Linked DNA regions of Homo sapiens: region 1 is linked to region 2. The links are contacts of gene promoters, found by promoter capture Hi-C in blood cells and fetal thymus (Javierre and others, 2016). All regions are on one chromosome and are shown on one strand. The core of a region is centred on a gene start or on the middle of the fragment in contact, and the rest is flanking DNA. Distances in the headings are between cores, read along the strand shown.

Region 1 (3,653 bases), core at 1,035-3,534, 240 kb before region 2:
TTCACATGAAGCTGTTTTTTTCCAGTTATTGATAAATTCTGGTGTTGAGTTCCTTAAAACAAACACCTATGTAAAATTAAAAGTATACATAGACCTAATTCTTACATACACAGCATTTTTTTCCCTTAAACCAGATTGTGAACTTGGAATGTTAAGTTTCTTTGGTACTAGGAAATTTCATATTTACAGTTGACAAATTATATGTGTATTGCAGCCATTCTGTAGTCTTATTCAGATCCATGGACATAACAGGGCTCGACAGAGAGATAAGCTTGGTCATATTCTTGAGGAATTTGCCACCTTGCAGGATGAGGTAAGAGCCAGGTTCCCCTCTCTTCTAAAATTAAATGATGCACACACTTTGTCCAGATTTTTAAAAACAATAATTCAGAACAATATTTTGACTAATTTTTCAACATGATCCACTTTTCACTTAAAATATAACAGTTTCTTACACCAACGTTTACAAAATGAAACAGAACAATAATCCAAACTGATAGATATCTTAAATATTTCTTTGATAATAGGAATAAATTATGAAATATGTATAAAATGATAGTTTTACAAGCTTACATTATAAAAAATATTAATACATTAATTTTAAAGTTAATTTGTGTGCAGCAGCAATATTGATAAGACCTGAAGTGTATTTGTATTTTTGTCCTTTAAAATTGATTTGGTTTAAGGCATGTTTAGGTAAATGTTAACCATTGTGAAATGAGAACTTCAAATGTAAACCTAACTAAAAATGCATTTAAAAATGTTTCTTTGGGTGGTCAGATTTAAATTTTCTGCTCATATTCTTTTTAGCTGTACGTTTTTTTAAAGTTCTGTCATTACCTTAAGAAAACAAAACGAACACAGTTTATGACATTTTATTTTAATAGGCAGAGAAGGTTGATGCAGCGCTTCACACCATGCTGTTGAAACAGGAACCCCAAAGGCAACATTTGGCCTGTTTAGGTACCTGGGTCCTTTACCATAACCTTCGCATTATGATACAGTACCTTCTAAGTGGCTTTGAATTGGAACTCTACAGTATGCACGAGTACTATTACATATATTGGTAAGAGCACAGTTTGAGTTAAAATTGGTGGTGGGTGCAATGGATAAGATCTGAGAATTCAGAGTTAATTTCAGGGTACTTTTTCATTTAGTATATTTTATCTTTAGTTGTGGGACAGTTGGAAAAATTTGAAAATTAGAGCTAGATCATCTTGAATATCTTTAAGTGCTATAATATTGCATGAGTGTATTTTTCCAAATGTTTATGTAAAAATTAACAAAAAATGACTCCAAAGTAAATGGATTAATTGAAGATCATTTATTTGCTCCTATGGAGAAAAATTAACACATTTTGCCCTGAATTTGGTGGCACTAGCTGTGGATGTACTTGACAGTTAAACATCAAATTGGAATGAGGTCTGTCTTCTTGGAAGAAATCATGACCAAGGTGATCACTGGGAGCATAACTGTTTCAAACCGTGGTGCTGAGGATTCACTTCAGGAGCTTTGGAGTTGATAAAAGATGATCTTCGGCAGAGTAGTTCTTCCCTTTCACTTGCGGACAAAATAAACCTAGTAAGAGGATGTTTGGAAAAGAGGATGTTTGAGCATATTTTAGGCATGTAAAAGCTGTCATAGAAAGAAAATAAGATTGAGTGTTAATGAATTCAGTTATTTTGAATTTTTTTCTCAGTCTGGCACATAATTTTAAACTAATGACCTGTGTTACTCATCACAAACACTCAGGTTTAGTGTATTAGACTTTAATAGAGTTCAACTTTTAAACTTGTTTAAATTTTACCTAGTAATTAAGTTATTCTGTATTCTCTGAAGTCACTGCTGTGGGAGGGAAAGTAATTCTCTTCCATGCTGTTGATGTAGATTTTGTTATGAGCAGTGAAGGCTTTTGACAGACAACTCTTGCCTGTGAAAACTGAATTTGAGCATCAACTATAGCAGTATGAGAATAATTTTCCTTGCTATATATTCTTCAACATTTATATAGATAATACCAAATAATCCTTACTAACAGGTATTTATATAGCTACTTTGGATACTACATTTTGTTATTCATAGTAGACAATTCTGGTTTTGTTTTCGTTTCTGTTTTTTGAGGTGGGGTCTTGCCATGTTGCCCGGGTTGGTCCTGAACTCTTGGGTTGTCAGTCTTCCCACCTCAGCCTCTCAAGTAGGTGGGACTACAGATGTGCACCACTGCACCTGGCTACTTTTGTTCCTTTTTATAGGGGAACATGCTCAGGTTCTTTTGTGGCTTGAAGCAGCTAATGGGACCTTTGTTCTTGATTTCTCAGATCAAAATATTATTTTTATATGCTTTTTTGCACAGAGAATTGGGATCTTAATTGAGCAAATAAATGAGACGCAGATAAATACTCCATTACACATTTGTCTATATACATAAGTAGATTTGTTTCTTTTCTTGTTAAAAGAACTTTAGTCTGCCCATAAATACCCTTGTGGTCTTTTCATAATTGGTTTTGAACTGCTTTTTAATTTCAAAATTACAGATTGGGCTCCTGCATTTCCCCGAGATAACCTTTAGTTGTTTTTCATGCATACGGTCCCTGAAGCATGTGGACTCTTTAAATCATCAGCAAAAACAGTGATTCTTAAACTTTAACATGCATCATAATCACTTGGAAAGTGCATTAATACACAAATTTTTGGGCTAAGTTCCTAGAATTCCTGACCTGTTAGGTCTAGGGTGAGACCGAATAATTTGCATTTCTAACTGGTTCTCAGGTGAACTGCTGCTGGCCCAGAGATGACAGTTTGAGAACCATTGGTATAGAATATCAGCACTCTCTTAGACATAAATGTATATTAATTTTGATAAAGCACTTAATAAAAGATCATTGAGGTACCTGATATTTGAGAAGAAAAGGCTGCATCTTAGTTGTCCCCTTCACTCATGTGTCCTTAGGTTAGATAAACAGAAGGTAGAAGACATCATCAGTTGCCTATAGAAATCCTTCACTTGAATTAAGATATATGAGTTGTTATGGACTCTCACATTTTGTAGGGTGGCAGGGAACAAAATTCAGTTATATGGTATAAAAGGGTACTATAGTAAATGTTTTTCTTAAATTCAGGGCCAGGAATTGTTTACTCTCCATATGAAATTATAGGCCTTATTATGTTATGAAATGCATATATATTTTTATATATATATATATCTCGTAGATTTGAAGACTTTTCTGGCTTAGCAGTGTTAAAGTTCTGAAAAATTAGTGTCTGGTAGAGAATGTTCTGTTTTATATTTCATTTATTAAATAAACTCAAGTAAATTGTAAATGTGAATGTTCTTAATTTTTAAGAATGATTTTATATAATGCCGATAATTTTTTATCTTTTTCTGATTTTATTTGCTTTGTGATTAAAAGAAAATATTTATAGACTGAACTGAACTGTGTTCTGATATAATAAAAACTTAATGGGCATTCATTTGATTTGCATATGTACATGTATAATTATCAAGAAATCTTCTGGAAAGTTGTAAAATGTAGAAAGGGAAAATTAATCCTTATGTTCATTTCTTGTAAGATCTAATCTATTATCTAATGAATGATCTGTTTTTAAAGACCTAAAGCATTATTTGAAATATCTATCGTTAATATATGTGTTGA
Region 2 (3,400 bases), core at 1-2,500:
TTGAAGTAATTACTTTTAGAGAGCTTGTTTGGAGGTTCTAGCAGGGGAGTGCAGCTACTCATATACCCTTGCCCAAAGAACGGCCCTCCTCTGTTGGGGAAGGTTGTCCGCAGCGTCTGGAAGGACGCATGTGGACGGATGAGGGAGGAAGGAGACATCCACCTAGCCAGCCAGATCAGACAAATTAACCCTGGCCATCAGTGGGGTGACAGATGTTGCAGCCAGATCACCCTCACATCCGGAAATAATTGCTTTTAAAACGCAATATTTGAAAACCTGAATTTTCTTGGGTAAGCAACTATTATATTGCTAATTTAACGAAACTTTTTTTAAAAATATTAATATACTTAAATTTTAGAGCAATTTTAGAATTGGTTAGAAAGTACAATGTTCCCACAACCCCCCTTCTCTGCACCATACACACAGCTTTCCCCTTTTTTTTTTACTACTTATGTTTGTGTGGTACGTTTGTTATACTTGATGAGCCGGTATCAATGCATGGTTACTAACTAAAGCCCATACTTCACAGTTTACATTACGGTCCATTCTTGGTGTTGTGCATTCTATGAGATTTCACAATGTGCAATTACATATATCCACTTTGATAGTATCATACAGAGCAGTGTTTTTTTTTTTTCTTTGAGATAGGCTCTCATTCTGTCACCCCAGCTGGAGTGCAGTGGCGTGAACACAGGTCACTGCAGCCTCAACCTCCCAGGCTCAGGTGATCCTCCCATCAGCCTCCCAAGTGGCAGAGGAAAAACAAAGGACACTGGGTGTGAGGGAGAGGTGCAAAGTCAGGACCAAGCATCCATGGGAACACAGGGGAGGATGAAGGCACTGAGGTTGGGGAGAGAGAGCAGAGCTATCAGTGTTGAAGGCCGGAAAGGATGAGGGAGTCTGCAGGCTCGGCCCGATCAACTGGTTCCAGCTTCTGTGACCTGCCTGGAGGAAGATGAAACAGGCTCCTCATCCTTATTGGTAAAGATAAACCCAAATCCCATCTCACCTCCCAGCTCTGGTCTTCCCACCTTAGCCACTGCCCACCTCACTCCATCTCTCCTTGCCAAGCCTAGACTGGCTTAGTTTTCACTGCTCTGTGGTCTCACAGTGCCCCGTGGCTATGGCTGTAGATGCACTTACCACTTGTTTTACAGTTGTCTCTTCACGTGGTCATATCTGTCTTGAGTCTCTGCACTCCCAGGGCAGAGGCTGGGTCTCATTCATCCAGCAGCCCCAAGGCCCAGCCCCACTCCTAGCATGTGTCATTGCTTAGTGTTAAGTGACTGTCCATTGTGACATGTGGACATTCTCAAGGTCACATAAGCAGCTATATGATGCTAAGCGATGGGGAATTATCTTGCTGCTTGGTGGGGGGTGGGAGACGGTGGAGGATGATGGAAAAGCATTTTTAAAGAGTGAACATTGAGTAGCTGAGTAGCTACTTTTTTTTCTGCCTCAGCTTGTGGCTGGGACCCCGGGCGCACGCCACCACGCCTGGCTAATTTATGTATTTTTCTCTAGAGATGGGGTTTCGCCATGTTGCCCAGGCTGGCGTGAGTATAATTTTTTTTTTTTTTTGAGATGGAGTCTCACTCTGTCGCCCAGGCTGGAGTGCAGTGGCACGATCTCAGCTCACTGCAAGCTCCGCCTCCCGGGTTCACGCCATTCTCCTGCCTCAGCCTCTTGAGTAGCTGGGACTACAGGTGCCGTGAATGTAATTTTTAATCAGTCAAGTTTTTCCTTCTATAGACATGGGCAAAGTGCAAATAAGAAATTGAGAGAGATAATAGAAGGTACAGCTATGCTCTTTGCACCTGGCCAGATATGGGTAGAAGTGGACCAGGGGCTACCTGGCTGTGCAAATTCTCTCCATGAGCCATGCAGCCGTGCTCCAGACTCCATTCCCCACCCATGGGAGGTCCCTGTGGCAATCACTGAAAATTTTCCTGAAACAGCCATTTCCCCAGAATGCAATCTACTGGGCATTTAAATAGTCTGATTGAGTTAATAACTTGTGAACACCGTGGCAACATATCCATAACATGAAGCTTACCGTGTTAAGCCGTTTTAGGTACACAGTTCTGTGGCATTCAGTACATTCACATTGTTGTGCCACCTGCACTGCCTTCCATCTCCAGAGCTTTTTCATCTTTTCCACCTGAATCTGTGTCCATGAAATAAATTTCTCACCCCCTGTCCCCTGTCAATGGACACCTGGGTTGTTCCTACCTTTTGGCTATTGTGAATAATGCTGTTATGAACATGGATATACAAGAAAGTTAATAATTTTAAGCAGAATTTAATAAATACAGAAGATTCTTCCAATGAGAAAATATTTCAAAAGCCTGCCATTCAAAGGTGTTCTGCAGAGCAACAGCACTGGCTTCACTTGGGCCTTTGCTACTAATGCAGAATCTCAGGCTCTGCCCTGGACCTTTGTTACAGAATCTGCTTTTTTTTTTTTTTTGAGACAGTTTTGCTCTGTCACCCAGGCTGGAATGCAGTGGTGCCATCTCATGTCACTGCAACCTCCCCACCTCCCAGGTTCAAGTGATTCTCCTGCCTCAGCCTCCTGAGTAGCTGGGACTAGAGGCGCCCACCACTATGTCTGGCTAATTTTTGTGTATTTTTAGTAGAGATGGGGTTTCACCATGTTGGCCAGGCTGGTCTCGAACTCCTGACCTCAAGTGATCCACTCGCCTCAGCCTCCCAAAGTGCTGGATTACAGGCGTGAGCTACCTACTGCGCCCGGCCAAGAATCTGCTTTTTAACAAGACCCCCAGGTGACTTATTTGCACCTTAAAGTTTGAGGACTGCTTCAAGACATAGAATCCATGGAGAACAAAAAATGAGTACTTTATTTTTTATTCTTTTTTTTTTTGAGACAGGGTCTTGCTCTGTCATCCAGGCTGGAGTGCAGTAGTACGATCTTGGCTCACTGCAACCTCTACCTCCTGGGCTAAAGTGATCCTCTCACCTTGGTCTCCTGAGCAACGGGGACTACAGGCATGTACCACCATGACCAGCTAATTTTTGTATTTTTTGTAGAGACGGCGTTTTACCACGTTGCCCAGGCTGGTCTTGAACTCCTGGGATCAGGTGATCTGCCCACTTTTGCCTCCCAAAGTGCTGGGATTACAGGCTTGAGCCAACACACCTGGCCCAATAAATGGGCACTTCATCATGAAAAGTTTCGGAATCACTAGCTAGTGGAAGTAAAAGCAGTAACCCATCAAGGCCCTCAAAGTAGGCTAGTTTTAAGCTGAGTACCGCTGGTACAGAGCCCTTGCCCCGCTAAAGGTTGGTGTGAAATGAAGCCTTCCCTGAACACTGCACAGCAGCAAGGGAGGATGGGAGTCCACAGTGATGTAACCACCACATGGCTCTGTATTTCAAT

Evidence for each region. Contacts are between HindIII fragments. The CHiCAGO score rates a contact against its expected background, and 5 or more counts as called.
Region 1: a fragment that was not itself captured here is called in contact with the fragment with the promoter of C9orf153 in region 2 in 2 of 17 cell types (megakaryocytes and M2 macrophages); the score reaches 5.3 in megakaryocytes.

The regions. Positions count from the first base shown.
Region 1 is chr9:86,012,832-86,016,484 of GRCh38, forward strand. NAA35 (N-alpha-acetyltransferase 35, NatC auxiliary subunit) reads left to right here. Exons shown (of 23, transcript NM_024635.4): 16 at 215-313; 17 at 888-1,066. Among named protein-coding and RNA genes, the nearest start is that of NAA35, 74 kb to the left of the region's middle. The HindIII fragment of the contact is 3,436 bases long and covers 567-3,653 here.
Region 2 is chr9:86,258,407-86,261,806 of GRCh38, forward strand. It overlaps C9orf153 (chromosome 9 open reading frame 153), which reads right to left and starts at 1,251. Exons shown (of 4, transcript NM_001276366.4): 1 at 1,144-1,251. It also overlaps the pseudogene RN7SKP264. The HindIII fragment of the contact is 3,437 bases long and covers 1-2,049 here.